Regions from separate parts of the Homo sapiens genome. Here region 2 is linked to region 1. Evidence: promoter capture Hi-C in human tissues and cell types (Jung and others, 2019). All regions are on one chromosome and are shown on one strand. The core of a region is centred on a gene start or on the middle of the fragment in contact, and the rest is flanking DNA. Distances in the headings are between cores, read along the strand shown. Region 1 holds the start of ARHGAP44 (Rho GTPase activating protein 44). Region 2 overlaps MYOCD (myocardin).

Region 1 (6,929 bases), core at 2,311-4,810:
ATTGTTGACCATGGGTAAAAGCAAGGTGCATGCTACTTTCTCAGAGAAACCCACTGTAGCAGTCAGCTTAGACTCAATTATGTTACAGCAACAAACCTCTGATTTAAAACAGCAAAGATACCTTTTGCTGGGGGGCCACATCACTGTTCCACAGCATCCCCTAACTGGTTCATTGGCAGCGTTAAGAAGAAGAGGGCAGGATCACAAAATGACTCCTGAAACTTCTGCCCTCAGAAGAAGCGTAAAAGTCACCTCTGTGCATATTCATTGTTCAAAGAAAATCACATGACCGATCTTTACCTCAACAGTAAGGTAAAATAGAGTCCTTCCCATAGGGATTGGCAGTGAAATTTTTTGGGCATTAATAGTATCTGCACAAGCATCATCTACTTTTCTTCTCTCTTTCTCTCCCGCTTTCCAGTCCCCATCACCATCTTCAACATCTCACAGCCTGTAGGTTCTTTATTTAGACTAAGCAGGATGATATATGCTTTATAATCTACTATTTCTGACATAGACTATTAAAGCTCCAAAGCCTGTATTCTGGAAACTCAAAACTCTTTTCTTGAAGAACTCTATTCTGTCACATGTGTTTCTGAAGCTCTTGTTTCTGCACTATTATCCCTTCCCCGGGGTAGAAAGCAGAAAATGTACTAGCTGCTTCCTGAGTGAAGGAAGCATTCAAAGGAAGACAGAAAATCTGTGGAGAAGCCACCAGTTAATAAAACATTATTGGACCACACTCTGGCAGGGGAGGCTGCCAAAGGGATTTCCCTTTGGAACGGAAAAATCTTGGGATTGAAGGCAGGGGCTGGCATGATATTGGAGTTGGCTACCAGAGTTCTTGAGGATTAGTGCTAACAAGTAGAACTTTCTGAGAGGATAGTAATGTTCTTTATCTGTGCTGTCCAGTACAGTAGCCTTTAGCCACATGTGGCTCTTAAGTACTTCGAATGTGACTTGGGTGACCGAGGAACTAAATTCTGTTTTTATTTTATTTTATTTTTTATTAAACTTTAAGTTCTGGGATATGTGTGCAGAACGTGCAGGTTTGTTACATAGGTATACACGTGCCATGGTGGTTTGCTGCACCCATTAACCCATCATCTATATTAGGTATTTCTCCTAATGCTATCCCTCCCCTTGCCCCTACCCGCGACAGGCCCCGGTGTGTGATGTTCCCCTCCCTGTGTCCATGTTTTCTCTTTGTTCAACCCCCACTTATGAGTGAGAACATGCGGTGTTTGGTTTTCTGTTCCTGTGTTAGTTTGCTGAGAATGATGGTTTACAGCTTCATCCATGTCCCTGCAAAGGACATGAACTCATCCTTTTTAATGGCTGTATCCATGTCCCTGCAAAGGACATGAACTCACCCTTTTTTATGGCTGCATGGTATTCCATGGTGAAAATGTGCCACATTTTTTTTTATCCAGTCTATCATTGATGGGCATTAGGATTGTTTCCAAGTCTTTGCTATTGTGAACAGTGCCACAATAAACATACATGTGCATGTGTCTTTATAGCAGAATGATTTATAATCCTTTGGGTATATACCCAGTAATGGGATTGCTGGGTCAAATGGTATTTCTAGTTCTAGATCCTTGAAGAATTGCCACACTGTTTTCCACAATGGTTGAAGTAATTTACAATCCCACCAACAGTGCAAAAGTGAGGAACCAAATTTTGAACTTTAATTAACTTAAATTGCAACAACCACATGTGGCTAGGGGATACTATATTCAACAGTGCAGTTCTGGAAGTTACCAGAGATAGTGTTGCTAAAAGTCATACAGTGACCTTAATGTCTTACCGTTTATACACATAAAAAGCATGTTGTACTTTGCTTTTTAAAAAATCTCAAAATGGAAATAATTTCACTTAATATAGACATCATATTGACATTATAGGTACAGCATAGTTGGTTAAAAGCAAATAATGCCTTCATTTATTCACTGGCTGGAGTTGTCTGACCTAATAAGCAGAGGCTAAATTCACAATTAATTAAAGATTTCATGTTCATTCAGCCAAGACATGCCTCAAACCACTTTTTGTTCAGCTAGCCAGCAAGATACTTAGAGCCATATTTAGGACATCTTGCAACTATAATCAACATATGCAAAATATCCTATTTCAAAGAAGATCCTTCCTTTATAAGATTAGTAATTCTGTTGTATGAACAGGATTTTTCTCTATTATGCTAAATATAATCATTTTGTAGTAAATGAATACGGCAATGTACTATATGAAAATTTATATGTAATTTGATTATTGTAATTTAACAAATAGTTCTCTTACTGAAGATCAGGCAGCATATTTTTCTATTTAGGGATGAGGAAACAGAGGTTTGGAGAGGTTAAGCTGTTTTCCTAAGGTTATATAACAGGTATGTGGAATTCTGATGCAGGAACTCCTATCTGTTTAATCCAAAGTGCCTCACACCCAACAATACTGCTTTTACTTGATATATAATGATAAAACCTTGATATATAATGATAAAACCTAACTGCAATCACCAATCTTTTTCTTTTTTTTCTTTTCTTTTTTTTTTGTTTTTTGAGATGGAGTCTAGCTCTGTCACCCAGGCTGGCGTGCAATGGCGCGATCTCCACTCACTGCAACCTCCACCTCCCAGGTTCAAGCTATTCTCCTGCCTCAGCCTCCCAAGTAGCTGGGATTACAGGTGCCCGCCACCACGCCCAGCTAATTTTTGTATTTTTAGCAGAGACAGGGTTTCACTGTGTTGGCCAGGCTGGTGTCGAACTCCTGACCTCGTGATCCACCCTCCTTGGCCTCCCAAACTGTTGGGATTACAAGCGTGAGCCACCGCGCCCGGCTCACCTATCTTTTTCTAAGGATAGAGACCAAAGAAGCCACAACCCCTTCCAAGGAGTCAACTGACGCCAATGGGATGCTGTGGTGCAGGACACTTGGGGGGTGCTGCAGCTGATGCCCCTTGGTCTCCTGGTGGTGGAAGGGAAATGGGACTAGATACGAGATTGGCATCTAAGCCATACAAAAAAGCTGTCTCAGACAGGTTGGGCCAGTAAGCACAACGTCACTTATCTATATTGGCTTCTGGTTACCTAATGGGTTTGGTTTGGTAAAAATTAAGAATCAGACTTCTGGGATGCAAGCTATGCCTGTTCAAAATCTGCTGTCAGCCCCTGTGTTTCAAGCTTAACCTTGAACCTCATCATTAATCAGGTGACCTTAGACCGTTTTATCAGCCACGTATCTGCTAGCATAAATCTCCCTTCTGTGAATTCAGAACACTGATACCTCACATTCACTAAAAATACAATGAGAGACAGATGCTCACTTTCTTTATTTGCTGTTGTATTCTTGGTCCCACTTTGCCATTTTTAAAACAGGAAAACGTTTCCCTTACTCGAACGCTAAAGTGCAAAGCTGCTGGTGACGCTGCCTTCTCCCACCTCCGCACTCCACTGTCCTTGCAAACTTTGGACAGAGGAAAGGTGGGCACGGGGCGCGAAACTACAAGTCCCGGCATGCACGGCGTTCTCCGCACAGGCGCACGGGGACCGCCGGGCCAGCCGGCCAGCCAGCCTGCGGAGACTCCCGGGTCCCCGCGCCGGACTGGGACTGGGAGCAGGCAGCCCGGGCGGAGCGGGCCGGTGCCGAGGACGGCCCCAGGCATTGCTCTGCCCCGGGCATTGCGCGGCGCGCGTGAGGGGGATGCGGCAGGAGGCGGCGCGGCGGGAGGAGTAGGCGGCGGCGCCCTCGGGAGGGAGCTGCGCGCGGGCCAGACGGCGCCCGGAGGCTCCGCAGTGCCGCCGCCGTCGCCCGGGAGGCTCCGCGCGGGAGCCATGTAACCCTGCGGCGGGCTCCGGGCTGCTCCGTCCTTCCCCAGCTCCCGGGCTAGCGCGGCAGCGGGGCCACGATGAAGAAGCAGTTCAATCGCATGCGCCAGCTGGCCAACCAGACGGTGGGCAGGTAGGTCACCCGCGGGCACCGCTGTCGGTGCGCGCCCGCGAGGCTGCATCCGCAGGGGCGCGCAGGTGATGGAGCCCGCCCAGCCTCCAGTCCTCCTTGCCTCAGTCCTTTCCCCTGCACCAGCTCCCTCCAGGCGCCGCTCGCAGGCGCGACCCCTCCTCCCTAACTTCCCAGACCCCGGAGCTCTTCTCACTCGCCGCCTTCTGCTCCGGGCTCCGGTTGCCAAGCGCAAAGTGTGACGCATCCTTTACCTGCGTCCCCGGCTGCCCCTTCGCTTCGTCCTCCCTGCCTTTCCCCGGGACTCCCTTCTCCCTCTGGCCGCCTGTCTTCCTGGAAACAGGTGTTTGCTCTGATTGTGCTGGAGGCAGCCGAACCGCAGTCGGTCTCCGGAGATCTCTTCCCTCCCCTCCCCTGCGCCGAGTTCAGGGCTGCTCCCGGGTCCAGGGAAAGTGCTGGGCCTGGTCGGCCTGCCCCTCCCGCCGTGTTTGTTTTCAGGGACTATGACTGTACGAGATTCTGGATCACTTTCCTGGCCGGGTTTCTTAAGGCGTTTGGTGGGGGGAAAGGGTGAGGGGTGGGAGAGGAAGGAAGGTGCTGGTGGAATGGCGTTGCTGCCTGCTTGATGTTAGGACTGATTTCAGTGGAGGGAGGGAGGCTGCAAAAAGGAGGCCCAAGTCCTCGGGAAGATGAGATAAGCAGAGAATCGCAGCCAGGTAGGGGAGGGGGACAGAGGCCCCACAGTCAGAAGAGTCAGGCCCCGGGAAGCTGCAAGACCCCGCCTGCTGCCATCACGGTGAAAATGGGCTACATCTGGACTCCAGGAGCGGCTCTGCAGGGTGCCAACATCTATTAAGGTTACATAAAAATCCTGGTGGGTCGCTCCCAAGACTAGACATTCTTTGAACACAGGAGCGTTAGGTAGAAGGGATTTTTCCTGGAACCCCTACTCCTGGGGAGGGATTTCCGTTGCTGCTGTGGCAAAGGAATTCAGGTGTGCTGTTCTAAAGCAATCAGAAAGCAAAGAATCCAGCCTTGGGTGCAGTTCAAATGCAAGCTCAACACCTCGAGGGCTCTCCACTAGGTTTACGGAGAAACCGAATACCTTTCTTGGGTGGGAAGTGGAGCCTGAACTGGCATCTGGTAGGATGGGGGTGGGGACATCCCTGGGGAATAGGGGACATCTGAACTCCCGTCTGAGCATACTGCCCTAGTTACAGTGGGCATTTGAGGGCAGGGGATGCGGTGGCTTCTTATGCTTCCAGGGACTCCAGATGGTTTCCAAGTAACAATGTCTAAAATTGACTTGGATTCATTTTTCCTTCCCAAACACATGTGCTTTAACATGAGGGGGAATTTATGAATAGCAGAGTCAGATTAGCCCAGATTTCTGGCATGGTATTGCCACAGATATAGCCTCACGTGGACTGCCTTTTGATGTGTTGGATGCCGAGATAGTGTTTCCTGGTATTCGTTGTTTAGCAGATGACAGTCAAGCCGACCCGTCTTTAATGTCTTGGCTTCTTCGTCACCCTGCAGGCGGGCATTGGCCATCACCTCAGACCAGCCAAGTGACCAGGAGGCCCCTGACACTAGACTTGGGTTGCTGGTTTCTCTTGGTCTTGGGGTTTCAGTGCCGTGCTAGAATCTAAATGTTCAGAACATGTTTATGCCTCCTCCCTGGCCTTCCTGAAACACAATTCTTCTTTTTTTCAGGACCTGTTTTTAAATGGGGGAGATTTTTGCGCCATGGCATCATATCTTATTTTTCAGCCTCATCCATGGGGGGAATGCAAAATGGTGAGGGGAGGTTGGATTTCAGAAAAAGTGGTCTTAGGTATTGAGAGCACGTTCTTGGAAGTCCAAGCAGCTGGTTACCAAGAGGTTCTTTCCTCTTCTTTGTTGGGGCTCTGGTGGATGTTGGCCTATGGATGAATTCTGCCTTTCTCCGTTGGTAGCCATTGTGTTGTGCACTGGGCCAGGTGAGGGCCAGCCTGTATCGCTTTTGATGAAATCCAGAGCAAGCCTTTTAAAGCAAAAACCAGTTCATGTTACCTTGCTGCTGAAAAGCTTCCAGCGACATCTGATTGTGCTTAGCATCTCATATCTTGCCAGGGTTCTACAGGACCATCCTTGGTTGGCCTTTTTTCTTAACTCTTTTTCTCCCCATTCTCATCTCTTCACATTCATGGAGCTCTAGCCGTGTGGCCTTTCTTGCCCCAAACACACTGAGCTCATATCCACCTTGAGGATTTCGTTTTTACTGTTTTCCCATTTTTTTTGTTTTTTGCTTGGCTGAGAATGTGCTCCTTCCAAGTAGCTTTTTCTCATCATTTCAGTCTTGGTTCCAAGGCCTTCAAGAGGCCCTTCCTCCCCTATTTACCTCCAGCTCATCATTTTTTCATTTCTGGACAGCACTCATCACTGATTGAAACGCTTTTATTTTTTATTTTCTTGTCTGTCTGCTTCCAGCAGAATCTATTGATTGCTGTTGTATGCCTGTGTAGATAGTGCAATGCCGTTTAGACTACTGACTCTCAATCGGTGTTGATTGCCGAGATTAAAACGGTTTACCCCAGGGTCCGTGAGGGTCAGCGAGAGGGGCAGTATCTCCTCTATTATTGAGAATGTTTTGGGTCATGATCCTATGAGTATTGGAGTAAAAGAGCCCGCGGTTGCCTGTTAATTTCTTAAATCAGTAGAAGCACATAGGATTGGAATTTGGACTTTAGGTGTGCAGTTATAAAGCACTTGATTTTTATCCTTATATTTTTCTAAAGTTTTCCTCTTTCCGAGGGAGGACTAAGAGGACTTGAAAGTCCTTCCTCATGGCTCGCCTTCCCTAAGTTGCAGGTTCTGGAGTTCTGAATATAAAACTTAAAGTCATTTTAACAATGTAGGAGTTGCCCTACTTAAACATACTCTGCTGGGTTACTAGTACTTTCTCTCGAAGTGCTCACATCCAAGTCATATTAAGG
Region 2 (6,929 bases), core at 1,503-4,002, 43 kb before region 1:
CCACACCTGGCTACTTTTTGTATTTTTTGTAGAGAAGGGGTTTCACCGTGTTGGTCAGGCTAGTCTCGAACTCATGACTTCAGGTGATCCACCCGCCTCGGCCTCCCAAAGTGTTGGCATTGGCATTACAGGTGTGAGCCATCGCTCCCAGCCATGAAAGAACTTTCTACAAGTAGTCTCAAGATCAGAATGCAACCTTTGTTAGGTCATCAGTTGGTTTTAGGTTAGGAGAATGCACTCATTGAAACACAGGATTACATTTTGCTGTACTCCAGAAAGGAAAAACTCTGGAGCTGCTTCTAAGATTCAACATTCCCTGTCTAAGGAGTGTCCTTCCAGTGTGATACATTTGCAATGGATTTGTTCATTAGCAACGTTAGTGTCCTAGGAGCTCTTTGTACATCATGCCTTTGCTATATTATATTTCTGAGATCCAAGAATGGCCATCAGACAAAACTGCCTCACAACGTGTCCATGATGCAAAATCATTCTCAGCCATCACCTAAAGCACATGCAATTTCCTCATCTTCTTTGCAGTCCAAATCCTTGGGTGACAGTAAGAACCGCCACAAAAAGCCCAAGGACCCCAAGCCAAAGGTGAAGAAGCTTAAATATCACCAGTACATTCCCCCAGACCAGAAGGCAGAGAAGTCCCCTCCACCTATGGACTCAGCCTACGCTCGGCTGCTCCAGCAACAGCAGCTGTTCCTGCAGCTCCAAATCCTCAGCCAGCAGCAGCAGCAGCAGCAACACCGATTCAGCTACCTAGGGATGCACCAAGCTCAGCTTAAGTAAGTCCGGCAAGGCTGGGAGGGTGGCTGTGGGCAGAGGTTGGGAAGGGTGTCTATTAATATCTATCTGCCAGCACCATGGGGCCTAGCAAGTCCTGTATTGCACCATTTCCTCATCCAGTATGTTTGGAAGGTGACTCAATTTAGAAACTATGCACACCTTTTCAGAGCCGTAAGACTGGGAGGAAGCAAATACAGGGCCCTCTATATCTGCAGATGTATTCCAAACCCTCATTGGATCCCTGAAACCTCAGAGAGTACTGAACTCTACATATACTGTATTTTTCTTAGGCATATATACCTGTGATAAGGTTTCACTTATAAATTAGGCACAGTGAGAGAATAACAATAATAGCTAGCAATAATGTAGAACAATTATAGCAAGATACTGTAATAAAAGGTATCTGGATGTGGTGGTTTCTCTCTCAAAATAACTTATTGTACTGGACACAACTATTTTTGAACTGCAGTTGACCTCAGGTAACTGAAATCTTGTAAAGTGAAACTGCCAATAGGTGGAGGGACTGCTATAAATCAATGCCCTTGATAAGAGGCCCCTTTGGGGAAAAGGAAAGTATTAGCACTTTCAAGTTGGACTATGGAAAGTCTAAGAATGTGATATTGGAATTATGAGCAATTCCGATGCCCTTCTGCTTTTAGAAGGAACAGGGCTGAGCAGCTGACAGACACTCTCAAAGATTGACTCCTGAGCCCAGGTTGTGTGACCACATTGCTAGGTCACCTTTTATTTTTTTTAAATATATTTATTTATTTATTCATTTATTTTTTCGAGATGGAGTTTCACTCTTGTTGCCCAGGCTGGAGTGCAATGGCGCGATCTTGGCTCACCGCAACCTCCGCCTCCCAGGTTCAAGCGATTCTCCTGCCTCAGCCTCCCTAGTAGCTAGGATTACAGGCATGCGCCACCACGCCCGGCTAATTTTGTATTTTTAGTAGAGACAGGGTCTCTCCACGTTGGTCAGGCTGGTCTCAAACTCCCAACCTCAGGTGATCCACCCGCCTCGGCCTCCCAAAGTGCTCGGATTACAGGCATGAGCCACCGTGCCTGGCCAGGTCACCCTTTAAATTGTCAATATCCCCACATATAAAGTTGAGATGTAGATTCCTCCTGTGTCATCCTCAGACTATATACTAGCAATTATGCTGAGCACTAAACGCAACCAAGCTTCACCAGGTGTGTTTGGCCTCCCCAGGACAGAGCATCAGCTGAATCACAGGTGGATGTGTCCTCTTTCATATGCCAAAGTCCCTGCCACTCCCTCTTATCTCCCTAAACAAAGTTCAGATGTCACGCACCGCTTACCGTCTAGCCGGCAGTGTTGTTTTTCCTCACCCTGGTCTCTTCTGCTGGTTTATTACATGCCTGACCCTTGCAGGCAATCACTTTGGGATCCGATCTAAATGCAAGTTATCCCACCAATATTTGATTGTACTTGAAATGCCTCTTTGTTTGTTTTTTAGGGAACCAAATGAACAGATGGTCAGAAATCCAAACTCTTCTTCAACGCCACTGAGCAATACCCCCTTGTCTCCTGTCAAAAACAGTTTTTCTGGACAAACTGGTGTCTCTTCTTTCAAACCAGGCCCACTCCCACCTAACCTGGATGATCTGAAGGTATAGGATTTGACATGAGTTTCTTTCTTTTTTTAAACAAATACAACAGTATGTTGTTAACATCACCAGGACCAACTGATATCTGGAGTAAGAGAGTGGGAGGGGAAGAAGACTGTAGGAAACACTGAAGGAGGTGACAGAATTTATCCTGCTGTGGTTGAACACCCCAGTTGTCTAGTCCATTTTATGCAGCCGTAACAGGATACTGGAAACTGGGAAATTTGAAAAGAAAAGGAATTTATTTCTCACAGTTCTAGAACTGAGAAGTCCGAGGACATGGCACCAGTATCTGGCAAATGCCATCCCATGGTAGAAGGGCAGAAGGTGGAAGGGCAAGAAAGGGCAAGAGCCCTTTCTTTTGAGATAGAGGGAAAAGACAAACTTTATGTTTATTTTACCATAGCAAAAAATAATTTTTAAGTAGGCTATTTCTAGATAAGAGTAAGACAGGAGACAAGTGAGACAGGAGATGCTTTAGCCAAAGAGAAACATGATCCAGATATGATAGTGCCATCTGTCAGACCCCTCAAAACCCACTTTTGGGAGGCTGAGGCAGGTGGATCCCTCTAGATACACATGCTCAGAATCATTGGCTGGTGAGAGTTACGGTAATTAGTATAGGTATAAGGAGATGATGATGATGATGGTGCCTACCTTTTTTTTTTTTTTTTTTTGAGATGGAGTCTTGCTCTGTCATCCAGGCTGGAGTGCAGTGGCACAATCTTGGCTCACTGCAAGCTCTGCTTCCCGGCTTCAAGCGATTCTCCTGCCTTAGCTTCCCTAGTAGCTGGGACTACAGGCACCTACCACTACACCCAGCTAATTTTTGTATTTTTAGTAGAGACAGGGTTTCACCAGTTGGCCAGGCTGGTCTCGAACTCCTGACCTCAGGTGATCCACCGGCCTTGGCCTCCCAAAGTGCTGGGATTACAGGCATGAGCCACCCTGCCCAGCCCCTACCAATTTTTTTTTTTTTTAAATATAAACCATCTGTCATTCATTCTGTGTAGATTTGCTTTAATTTTCACCCTGCAAGATAAGTTTTGTCTCCCCAATTTAAAAAGTGAAAATAAAAACCAGAATCATAAAGAGGTCAAATGATAGGCAGTTTAACCAGCTTATGAATGACAAAACTGAGGCTTAAAGCTAAGTAACTTATTTCAAGGGCTTTGCTATTGTATGAGACGTGAGTGGAAAGAGAGAGATGGGCAGGAGAGAACGTGGCTGGACTTGACCACTCACTGTGTGTATGGGGAGAGGCGCCATCTGAGTCTTGGGAGAGTGACATCAATGACAGAAGGAGAGTAGAATGAGGAGTTGATGTGAAGGGACAGTGGCAAGTTCATTCAGTTTGGGAAAGTCAAGTCGCGGGTACCAGCAGGACAACCGAGAGAAAAGTCATCCATTTCCATCAGTAAGAATTAGCCAGGCTGTCTTGTCAGGGGTGGGAAAAGAAATTTCAGACTCATGTGCGACGTGTGGAGCATTGAACCTAGAAGGGTGAATGAGATTGACAAAGAACAAAATGGAAAGAGTGAGAAGGAAAGAGAGAAGAGGAATGAAGGAGGCATATGATGCAACCACAATTGAGGAAAGGGAGAAATAAGAGGAATGGATGAAGGTGACCCCGCTAATAGTAATCAGAAAGGTCATATAATGAAGGTGACATTTGCAAGCAATTTTCATGTTTTGCTACACAAAAGGAAAAGAACACTGAGAGAAAAGTCTTTGATTTCTTTTTGAAAAGTTCATGGTTATATATCACAGTATGTGGATAATTTTTTGGATCCTATTTAAAAAAAAAAAAAACTGGCTGGGCGTGGTGGCTCACGCCTATAATCGCAGCACTTTGGGTGCTGCGGTAGGCGGATCATGAAGTCAAGAGATCAAGACCAGCCTGACCAACACGGTGAAACCCCATCTCTACGAAAAATATAAAAATTAGCTGGGCGTGGTGGTGCACGCCTGTAATCCAGCTACTCGGGAGGCTGAGGCGGGAGAATCGCTTGAACCCGGGAGGTGGAGGTTGCAGTGAGCCAAGATCGTGTCACTGCACTCTAGCCTGATGACAGAGCTTGACTCCGTCTCAAAAAAAAAAAAAAAAAACAAAAAAACAAAAAAACTGGAGAGAGAGAGAAAGAGAGAGACTGAAAGTTTAAAAAACTGAGAGAATACCTTATTGATATTAAGAAATAATAATTCATATTTTAAGGTGTGATAATGTTATTATATTATGGCTTTTTAAGAGTACTTATCTTTCAGAGATAGAGACCAAATTATTTGGATGAAATTATGTATGCTTTGCTTCAAAATAATTCAGGAAAGGTAGGAGAAGTGGGTTGGAGTATAGAAGAAACAAGATTGGGCATGAGTGATAATTGTTGAAGTTTGTTGATGAGTATATGAGGTTCATTAGACTTTCTATCTACTTTTGTGTATGTGTGAATTTTTCCATAATAGTTTAAAAAGTTATTAGTGATGAAAACACTAGTGAATGTAGGGAAGAGGTGTATATAAACCTTTGTCCTGAACAAGCGCATACAGTGTAATATTCTGAAGTTTAAGGTAAATTAAACTCAACTGTATTCATTTTTAGAATATGAGCTACATTATTTAATAATGTAGTTAAATTATTCAGTGGCAAGACAGATTCTAAAAATAAATGTAGAACTCATCAATTTTAAGTAATTCAAAATTAAAACAATAATGAGTTGCCATTTTGTACTTTTTCAAACCAGCAAATCTAAAAGAAAATGATAAAACAATTCCAGCAAGACTATAGGGTAAATAAATAATTGCTAATGTAAGTTAATTCAATCCTTTCCTTTTAGCTGATTATAAAGTAACATATATTGACTGTTGAAATATGATAGTGTGTAGAAAAGTAAACAGTATTTTGAAAGATAAGACTAACAGAAAGCAGATTATATTTCCTTCTAGGTTTAAAATGCATATAAACATTTTGTTTTAAAATAATTGTCTTGAAAAAATTACGTGCACATAAATTACTGGCATACTTCTTTTCTTAACACATCGTGAACATTTTTCATAACTGTTAATATTCAATAAATTTTTTATTTTTAATAGCAGCATATCACTTCACCACCTAGTTAACATTCCACTGCTGGACACTTCACTAGCTACCAGATTTTTGCTATTCAAAACGTGATTTCAGGCGGGGCGCAGTGGCTCACGCCTGTAATCCTAGCGTTTGGGAGGCCAAGGTGGGCGGATCGCTTGAGGTCAGGTGTTCAAAACCAGCATGGCCAACATGGTGAAACCCCATCTCTACTAAAAATACAAAAAATTAGCCGGGTGTGGTGGTGCACACCTGTAATCTCAGCTACTCAGGAGGCTGAGGCAGGGGAATTGCTTGAACCCAGGAGACGGAGGTTGCAGTGAGCTGAGATCGCACCACTACACTCCAGCCTGGGTGACAGAGCGAGACTCTGTCTCAAAACTTATATATATATATGTATGTATATACATATGTATATGTATATATACAAAACCTATATATATGTGTGTATATATATACACATGTCTCAAAACCTATATATACGTGTGTATATATACACACGTATATATACACATATGTATATACACATACATATGTGTATATATGTATACATATGTGTATATATATGTGTGTGTGTATATATATATATGATTTCAGTGATCTTTGTGCCTACATTTATTAGTTTCTCTGATTATTTCCTCAGGCTAGAATAAAATTCCTGAATTAAATATATTAATATTGTTTAAAGTTTTTTGTTTGTTTGTTTGTTTGTTTTTGAGACGGAGGCTCGCTCTGTCGCCCAGGCTGGAGTGCAGTGGCCGGATCTCGGCTCACTGCAAGCTCCGCCTTCCGGGTTCACGCCTTTCTCCTGCCTCAGCCTCCCGAATAGCTGGGACTACAGGCGCCCGCCATCATGCCCAGCTAATTTTTTGTATTTTTAGTAGAGACGGGGTTTCACCGTGGTCTCGATCTCCTGACCTCGTGATCCGCCCGCCTCGGCCTCCCAAAGTTCTGGGATTACAGGAGTGAGCCACGGCGCCCGGCTAAAGTTTTTGATACATATTAAAATTTCTGCCGTGAACATTTATGTGTCTGTTCCCAGAAGCAGCAAGTCGAAGCAGCACTTCTCAAACATTAATGTGTGAACTGAATCACCTGAGCTCTTGGTAGCATGAAGATTCTGATTTAGGTCTGGGGAGGGGCCCAAGATTCTGCATTTCCAACTAGCTCCCAGGCGATGCTGATGTTGCTTGTCTAAGGACCATACTTTGAATAGCAATGTAATAAAGAGCTTTACAAACACGTTGTAATTTTGGGCCGGGCGCTATGGCTCACGCCTGTAATCCCAGCACTTTGGGAGGCTGAGGTGAGTGGATCATCTAAGGTCAGGAGTTCCAGACCAGCCTGGCCAACATGGTGAAACCCCGTCTCTACTTAAAATACAAAAATTAGCCCGGTGTGGTGGTGCGTGCCTGTAATCCCA

Evidence for each region. Contacts are between HindIII fragments. The study calls those that stand out against the background at their distance.
Region 2: a contact is called between a fragment that was not itself captured here and the fragment with the promoter of ARHGAP44 in region 1, in 2 of the 25 tissues and cell types used here (pancreas and spleen).

What each region holds. Positions count from the first base shown.
Region 1 is chr17:12,785,938-12,792,866 of GRCh38, forward strand. It overlaps ARHGAP44 (Rho GTPase activating protein 44), which reads left to right and starts at 3,561. Exons shown (of 21, transcript NM_014859.6): 1 at 3,561-3,954. The coding sequence starts at 3,902. ARHGAP44-AS1 (ARHGAP44 and MYOCD antisense RNA 1) reads right to left here and starts at 4,347. Exons shown (of 2, transcript NR_104607.1): 1 at 4,206-4,347. RefSeq lists a silencer at 3,488-3,837. The HindIII fragment of the contact is 5,339 bases long and covers 1,533-6,871 here.
Region 2 is chr17:12,743,646-12,750,574 of GRCh38, forward strand. MYOCD (myocardin) reads left to right here. Exons shown (of 14, transcript NM_001146312.3): 8 at 538-791; 9 at 2,274-2,427. Among named protein-coding and RNA genes, the nearest start is that of MYOCD-AS1, 41 kb to the left of the region's middle. The HindIII fragment of the contact is 8,828 bases long and covers 1-6,929 here.